Regions from separate parts of the Homo sapiens genome. Here region 2 is linked to region 1. The links are contacts of gene promoters, found by promoter capture Hi-C in human tissues and cell types (Jung and others, 2019). All regions are on one chromosome and are shown on one strand. Each heading gives the region's core, a stretch centred on a gene start or on the middle of the fragment in contact. The rest is flanking DNA. Distances are from core to core; before and after follow the strand shown.

Region 1 (4,513 bases), core at 1,217-3,716:
TCAACTATCCTATTCATCAACTTTCGATCTGCCTCACTCACACCTAACCCTTCTTTATCAGATTTCTCCACAGGGGCTTCAGGAGTTCTCTTTTATTAGCTGCTGCTGCTCTAATCAGGGTAAAAATCTAAAGCCTCGAATGAGGTTTGCCAGGGGGTCCAAAATCTGGCCCAGACTCTCCAGGCATTTCCTCAAATCCACCACTACTCCCCACACCCCAGGCGCAATAAATTATGAAATACAAAACCAAGGCAAAGCCAGGCCATGTATTAGCCTTCTTCCTTAAAGCAAGCCGACTAAATTGAGATGTTTCATAGAATCTTCCCGCTTCTCTCCCTTCTCAGCGCGTAAAGAATGTTCTGGCAGAGCACGGTGGCTAAAGCCTGTAATTCTTGTGCTTTGGGAGGCTGAGGGTCACTTAAACCCAGGAGTTGGGCAGCACAGCTAGACTCCGTCTCTTAAAAAAAAAAAAAAAAAAAAAAGTTAGCCGAGCGTGGTGGTGCGCGCCTGTAATTCCAGCTACTCGGGAGGCTGAGGCAGGAGAATTACTTGAAGCTGGCAGGCGGAGGGTGCAGTGGGCAGAGATGGCACCACTGCACTTTAGCCTGGGAAATACAGCCAGACTCCGCCTCAAAAAAAAAAAAAAAATGCTCAATGAATGGGCTGGGGTGGGTGGGGCAGAGAGGAGCTGACGGGACATACTACATCTAAAACGCCACTGTTTCCGAGGGACGCGGATATGCTCTGGTCCCCCACCTACATCCCATTCAGTAAACAAAGGTACCCACCGAAACATACAGCAGCACAAACCCATTTTTATAAGACCCTGTGCCTGACTATTGCAGGAAGATGGAGGACAAACAACAGCTGGAGAATAGATGAGCTGATGTTTGGCTCCTAACCTCTAAAACAATGCCAACCCAGCCCCTTCCAGGAGTAACAGCTTGAAAACAATACATGGCATTTAGATAGTTTTTAGCATTCCTGGCAATTCCGTTACTAATTCATGGGTCTTCCTCACAAGGGAAGAAACCCCATTTTTGAGGCACAGGCCCACCAGGGCAAAATGACCTGGCCAGGCTGGAGCCAGGTGCATGTGAGGGCCACTGTGAGGCCCTCTGCTCTGCTCACCCTCTACGTCACAGTGCTTCTTCTGTAGGTGAACGTGTGGGTTTTCAGCCAGGGCGCTTCTTACTGAAGGGCCCGAGGGTCCCGGAGAACATATCTGAAACGTCTTTTGAAAAGACTGTAGCACTTTGGGAGGCCGAGGCGGAGGGATCACCTGAGGTCAGACGTTAGAGACCAGCCTGGCCAACACGGAGAAATCCCGTCTCTACTAAAAATACAAAAATTAGCTGGACGTGGTGGCAAATGCCTGTAATCCCAGCTGAGGCAATCCCTGTGAGGCTGAGGCAGGAAAATCGCTTGAATCCGGGAGGCAGAGCTTGCAGTGAGCCGGGATCGCGCCACTGCACTCCAGCCTGGGCAACAGAGCAAGACTCCGTCTCAAAGAAAAGGAGAAAAAAAAAAAAGTAAAAGAAAAAAGAACGTTCTCTTTGCACGATCTAAGTACCTAGGACAGCTGCTACCCAGGCCCTTAGGGATTTACAGAGCCCTGTCGGATTTGTCAGAAATTTCTGTAACCCGCACGCCGCGCACGCTCCAGGGTTGGTTGCAAGTGGCCCAGAGTCTTGGATCCCTGGTCCTGTTCCACCGGGAGCAGAACCACCTCGACGCGGGGACAGCGGCCTCGCTCGCTGCCCAGCGCCCGGACACCCGAGCCGGGCCAGCCCCCAGCGCCCCGCAGAAGGGTTTGACGCACTTGCGGCGCCCTCGCGAGTGCCGGGTGACAGTCGCCAACTTTCGCGGAACACGCGCTCCAGATGTGAGGGAAGAGGAGGAAAAACGCCGCCCGCCTGGGCTGGGGTTCACAGGCACGGCCCGCCTCCCGCCGCTCCTCCAGGCCGCGCTCGGGTGCACGGACACCGCCTCCGCGGCGGCCTCGGGCCCGGGGGAGGGAAGCGCGGTCTCCCGGGCTGTTGCCCTCGCGCAGCAGACCCGAGGGGCCGGCCCGCGAAACTTCGCGAAGTGGCGAGAGGGGGCCACCCGGCCGCTCAGCGCCTTTGTCGCTCCAGCCTCGCCACCGCACCGGGCTCGAGACGCCCAGCCCAGCCCCTTGGCCCGATCCCGCCCGGGCCTCGGCCCGCGCCCCTCAGCTCGGCGGCCCTCACGGCCCGCGCCCCCGCCCCCACCCCCGGAGCTCCACAGAGGCGCCCCTCAGAGAGGCCGCGTCGCCTCACAGACCCGCCCAGGAGCTCGAGCGCGCCCCGCAGCCGACACTCACTCGTCACTCAAGTCGCCGGCTAGCCAGGCAGGTTCGGCGGCCTTCGCTACCGCGCCGCTTACTCCTCAGAAGCCGCAGCTGCGAGCTCCGTGGCAGCCGCTGCACTCCTTCCGGCCCTGCCGCGGCGTCACCTCGCGCCTGCGCACAGCGCCCCCTCCCGACTAAGGACAGGAAGAACCATAGAGGCACTCCGGGTACTGCGGAGGAGGGACCGGGGGGCTCACCATAGAGAGGGCCGCCTAGTCGCGCCTGCATCCGGGCTCTCCGCCTGCGGAGACTTGACTCCCCCACGAGGCAGGAGGGTGAAAGGAAAGGAGACCCCCATATCCGACCCCACAAGGAGCCACCATCTCCCCAGAGCTGAAAAGGGTATGGGGCAGGTGGTTGTGGATGTTTACTCGATATCTACTGATTTGCCCTAATTCGTTTGGCAAGTCATTCATTCATTCTGCAAATATATTCTGCGGATTTCCTGTGGGCCACACACTGTTCTAGGAATTGGGGAAATTAAGAGTAAAGTGGGTCCCATGGCTGGGCACAGTGGCTCACGCCTGTAATCCCAGCACTTTGGGAGGCCAAGGCGGGTGGATCACTTGAGGTCAGACGTTGGAGACCAGCCTGGCCAACATGGTGAAACCCGTCTCTACCAAAAATAAAAAAATTAGCCAGGCATGGTGGCGGATGCCTGTAATCCCAGCTACTCAGGAGGCTGAGGCGGGAAAATCACTTGAACCTGGGAGGCGGAGGTTGTAGTGAGCCAACATGGCGCCCCTGCACTCCAGCCTGGGCAACAGAGCAACCCTCCATCTCGAAAAAAAAAAAAAGTAAAATGTGTTCCTGGCCTCAGGAAGTTTAGGTTTTAGTGAGCAAGTGAATAACTGACTAAAATACTGCTCCTGCTGGGCACAGTGGCTCATGTCCATAATCCCCGCGCTTTGGAAGGCCAAGGCAGGAGGATCGCTTGAGGCCAGGAGTTCAAGACCAGCCTTAGCAAAATAGCAAGACCCCAACTCTTAAAATAATTGCTGGCCAGGCGTGGTGGTTCACGCCTGTAATCCCAGCACATTGGGAGGCCGAGGCAGGCAGATCACTTGAGGTCAGGAGTTCGAGACCAGCCTGGCCACCATGGTGAAACCCCGTCTCTACTAAAAATACAAAAATTAGCTGGGCATGGTGGTGCGTGCCTGTAATCCGAGCTACTCGGGAGGCCGAGGCACAAGAATTGCTTGAACCGAGGAGGGGGAGGTTGTAGTGCAGTGATTATGCCACTGCACTTCAGCCTGGGTAACAGAGTGAGACTGTGTCTCAAAAAAAAAAAAATTGCCAAGTACACCTTCAAGTAGAGATATCAAGTCAGTAATTAGATAAATGAGTCTGGGCTGGGCATAGTGGCTTATACCTGGAATCCGAACATTTTGGGAAATGGAGGTGGGAGGATGGCTTGAAGCCAGGAGTTTGAGACGATCCTGGGCAATAGAGTAAGACCCCATCTTTACAAAAATAAAAATTAGCCGGGCATGGTGGTGCGCACCTATAGTCCCAGCTACTCAGGAGACTGAGGTGGGAGGATTTTTTTGTTTTGTTTTGTTTTGTTTGTTTTGTTTTTTTGGACAGAATCTCACTCTGTCAGCCAGGCTGGAGTGCGGTGGCACGATCTTGGCTCACTGCAACCTCCACCTTCTGGGCTCAAGCGATTCTCCTGCCTCAGCCTCCTGAGTAGCTGGGATTACAAGCATGTGCCACCACGCCCGGCTAATTTTCGTATTTTCAGTAGAGACAGGGTTTCACCATGTTGGCCAGGCTGGTCTTGAACTCCTGACCTCAGGTAATCTACCCACCTCGGCCTACCAAAGTGCTGGAATTACAGGAGCGAGCCACTAAACCCGGCCAGAGGATTGTTTGAGCCCAGGAGTCCGAGGCTGCTGTGAGCTATGATTGCACTGCTGCACTCCAGCCTGGATGACAGAACAACAGCCTGTCTCAAAAGAAGCAAACAAAAACAAAACAGGGAAATGAGAGGAACAATAGTCTTGATGCGGCAATGAGTGTTCCTTCTCTAAGACAGTAGAGTGTGGCTTATGGGGGCTTGCATGGGACAGAAAAAGACCACTACTCATAGTGCTTTGGGGAACAGTGTCCTGAGGGAATAGTCATGTTTCAGTGAAGTAG
Region 2 (4,013 bases), core at 449-2,948, 430 kb before region 1:
CAGCTACAGCTCTGGCAGCACCTGCCACCTCCGAGTCCAAGAGAAACCACATGCACGCATCCGTGGCGGGCATTCCTCTGACTGCTCCCACCAACACCTAAGCTTTCACTCCAGCAAGACCCCAACCTCAGGATGGTCCGGCAACTCTTGGGTGGGACAAGGGTCCAGCCCCGCCAGGCTACCAGCCCCTGCCCATCGAACCAGTCAAAGTGCGCTCTCTCTTGTATGCTCCAATCTGTCCCTCCCGAGGCTGTGTCCCAGGCTGGAGAGGCTAAGTGGGTGACAACCAACTTGGCCTCCTACAAGAACCCACAGGGAGGTCGGGTGCAATGGCTTGCATCTGTAATCCTACCACTTTGGGAGGCTGAGGCGGGCAGCTCACGTGAGGCCAGGAGTTCGAGACCAGCCTGGCCAACATGGCAAAACCCCGTCTGTATTTTTAAAAAATACACAAACTGTTGTATTTTCTATTTGTATTGTATTGTAGTGGACAGGGCCTGTTATCCCAGCTACTCCGGAGGCTGAGGTGGGAGGATCACTTGAACCCGGGAGGTGGAGGTTGCAGTGCGGCCGAGATCACACCACTGCACTCCAGCCTGGGCGACAGAGCAAGACATCATCTAAAGAAAAAAAAAAAAAAAAAAACCCACAGGGCATGCCAGCGACCCCTACAATCGAAACTGAAAAAGCAAGAGGAGACCGTTCTCGCTTCGACCTCCGTCCAGCTCAGCAACTCCCTGCTGGACACACCCCTACCTCCTTGTGAACCCTGCACTCTCTCTGACCCAGAATTGCAGAAAAGCAGATTATAAAAAATAAACAGAGGAGCGCTCTGCAGAGCCAGGTGAATCCCACAGCCACCGTCCTGCTGGAGCCAGGCCCACTGAATTCCTCACTGCTCCATGAGTCCGTTTCTCTCATCCAGGACAGTGGAGTTTTCGACACAGGCACGATGGAGTGAAGTTGCCCATTTGACCATTCCCAGACCAGGCACGGCAGCTCATGCCTCTAATCCCAGCACTTTGGGAGGCCGAGGCAGGCGGATCACCTGAGGTCAGGAGCTCAAGACCAGCCTGGCCAATGTGGTGAAACCCCGTCTCTACTAAAAATAACAACATTAGCTGGGTGTGGTGGTGCGTGCCTGTAACCCCAGCTACTCAGGAGGCTGAGGCAGGACAATCACTTGAACCCGGGAGGCGGAGGTCGCAGTGAGCCGAGATCATGCCACCGTACTCCAGCCTGGGCAAAAACAGCAAAACTCCATCTCAAAATAATAATAATAATAGTAATAATTAATAAATAAATAAAACGGACATTCCCTCACACGTGCCAAGAGTGAACACACCAGCTCGGAGCACCCCAGAGACATCAGAGACAGAGCACATCTCTGACCTCCAGCTCCACCCCATCCACGTCCACCTGAAAGTGGGGAATTCTTTCAGCTACCACCCAAACTGCATCCACAGACCCCAATCCCTCAGAAGATCAAAAGAACAGCAATCTCCCCCGACTTCCCTGAACCCCCTTCACTTTTCCAAAATGAGCAGAGATTGAGAGAGCAAAAGAAAGCCCCTCCCTTCCCCCTCAGAGTGATGAGTCTCTGGCACTGTCTCTTCCTGCTTGTGCCCACACACTGGCCAGGAGCCTAGGCTACACTGCTCTGATCACACCCATCCCAATCAAAGAAGCACTGAAACCACGACACTCTCATATGTCCTCAGCACAGAAGGCATGAGCCAGCTGCTTAACTCACACCCACAGGGAGCATGAGTCCTGGTGACCTGCTAGCCTAGGACAGACGAAACACACGCACCCTGAAAAAACTAGCAGCTTAATTCCGTGCCAGGTGCCACGTTCAGCTCTCTGCCCACGTAAGCTCACTTAAGGCCCCCAACGACCCCGTAAAGCAGGTGACGATATCTTAACTCTGAGTCCATAAACACTTTTTATTTCCTTAAGAAAACATGCTTTACGGTATCAATAAACACGGCGACTTTTCGCCCTTGACAGTCAAACTCCCCCTTCTCCGCCCATGAACCGGCCAGAGCCAATCAAAAGCCCCAGACACACAGAACCAGGCAGCTGCCAATGCAAAAGCTCTCCACCCGCCCCAGGGCCTGGGGATTCCCAGAACAAACACCACTGACACTGACATGGGCCAGAACCCAGGAAGCTCCCTCCTTCTGGCCTCCCTGCAGCTAGCCACAAACTTAGCACCTGTCCGCCCTGGGCATGAGGTGCTCTGTCCACAGATACTGAGCAAGCACCCACTACCTGCCAGGCAGCAGGTTCTGGGCCACAAGAGGCCATAACCATGAGGACGCTCCAATCTGACAGTCTCTTGTTAAATGAGATAAAACTCCATTCTTCAGTCCCATCAGGAATGCTCCATTTCAAGAGCTCAATAGCAGCTAGGCAAGGCAGCTCACGCCTGTAATCCCAGCACTTTGGGAGGCTGAGGCAGGAGGATCTCTTGATCCCAGGAGTTTAAGACCAGCATGGGCAACACAGCAACACTCAGCCTCTATAAAAATAAAAATAGTAGTAGTGTGCGCCTATGGTCCCAGCTATTCGGGAGGCTAAAGTGGGATGCTTGCTTAAGGCCAGGAGTTCCAGACTAGCCTGGAAAACAGGGAGACCCCATCTCTACGAAAATAAAAATAAATTAGCTGCACGTGGTGGTACACAGCTGTAGTCCCAGATACTCAGGAGGTTCAGAGGGGAGGATTGCTTGAGCCCAGGCACCAGCCTGGGAAACACTGCAAGACCCTGTCTCTACAAAAAATTTTAAAAATTAGCCGGGTGTGGTGGTGCTCACCTAGTCCCAGCTACTCGGAGGGCTAAGGCAGGAAGATCACTTGAGCCCAGGAGCTCGAGGCTGCAGTGAGTTATGATGGCCCCACTGCACTCCAGCCTAAGCAATAAGAAGAGACCCTGTCTCAAAAAACGCACGGCACAGTAGCTCACGCCCATAATCCCAGCACTTTGCAGGCCGAGGCAGGTGGATCACCTGAGGTCAGGAGTTTAGGACCAGCCTGGCCAACATGGCAAAACCCCGTCTCTACTAAAAATACAAAATTAGCTGGGTGTGGTGGCACAAGCCTGTAGTCCCAGTTACTCGGGAGGCAGAGCCAAGGGAATCGCTTGAACCCAGGAGCTAGAAGTTGCAGTGAGCCAAGATCGCACCACTGCACTCCAGCCTGGACGACAGAGTGAGACTCCGTCTCAAATTAAAAAAAAAAAAAAAAGAAAGAAAATAGTGGGACACAGCCATGATGGCAGCAGGTTCCAGTGGGTAGGTGGGTCGGGCCGAACCAGGTTTAACCCCGAGTCGCCTCTCCGCACCCGAGCGCACACACTCCCCTCTGGCTCTCGGGCCACATCATCCCCAGTAACAACATGGGGGTACCACTGTCAGAGCTGCCACAGACACAGTAACGCCAATGAACCCCTGCATCCATAGCCGAGCACGGTGGGCGCTCCATAAACACTGCTTCCGCCAACACTTCGCGACAAAGCCGTGGTCCGCAACAGACGGCATGCTTCCTGTGGGTAGGGGAGTCCGGTCACCTCTAGGACCCTCAAGAGCAGTCGCGCTCCAGGCCTCTCTAGGCCAAACAGCCGCAAACTCTATGACGCACAAGGCTTCCTCGCCTATGACATCCGGTAGGCAAATGGCGGGCGGGCAAGACAGGGCCGGCGGAGGTCGGCTCCCAACCGCCAATCACGGGCGCCCACCAATCACAAGCACCTGCCTGGCATCACACCCGCCAGTCACAGGCATATCCGCTTCAGGCGGCCTCCCCCCCCACTTCCGGCTTGGAGGCCATGCCAAGCTCAGGCACTGTAGTGCGCCCCAGAGAGAGAGCGAGAGCGAGAGAGAGAGTGAGGGGCGGGGGGGGAAGGAGGACGGTGGAGAGAAGAGGGGAGAAAAGGAGAGAAGCAGCGGACCAGAGGTGGCGCGGCATACGCTACTTACTGTAAGAGTAGCTGCTCACTTCCGAGGCAAACGG

The links. Contacts are between HindIII fragments. The study calls those that stand out against the background at their distance.
Region 2: a contact is called between a fragment that was not itself captured here and the fragment with the promoter of RNF216 in region 1, in 1 of the 25 tissues and cell types used here (dorsolateral prefrontal cortex).

What each region holds. Positions count from the first base shown.
Region 1 is chr7:5,779,197-5,783,709 of GRCh38, forward strand. RNF216 (ring finger protein 216) reads right to left here and starts at 2,467. Exons shown (of 17, transcript NM_207111.4): 1 at 2,345-2,467. RefSeq lists a silencer at 1,876-2,265. The HindIII fragment of the contact is 32,599 bases long and covers 1-4,513 here.
Region 2 is chr7:5,352,937-5,356,949 of GRCh38, forward strand. It overlaps TNRC18 (trinucleotide repeat containing 18), which reads right to left. Exons shown (of 30, transcript NM_001080495.3): 16 at 3,980-4,013. Among named protein-coding and RNA genes, the nearest start is that of TNRC18-AS1, 64 kb to the right of the region's middle. RefSeq lists an enhancer at 3,187-3,689. The HindIII fragment of the contact is 4,908 bases long and covers 1-4,013 here.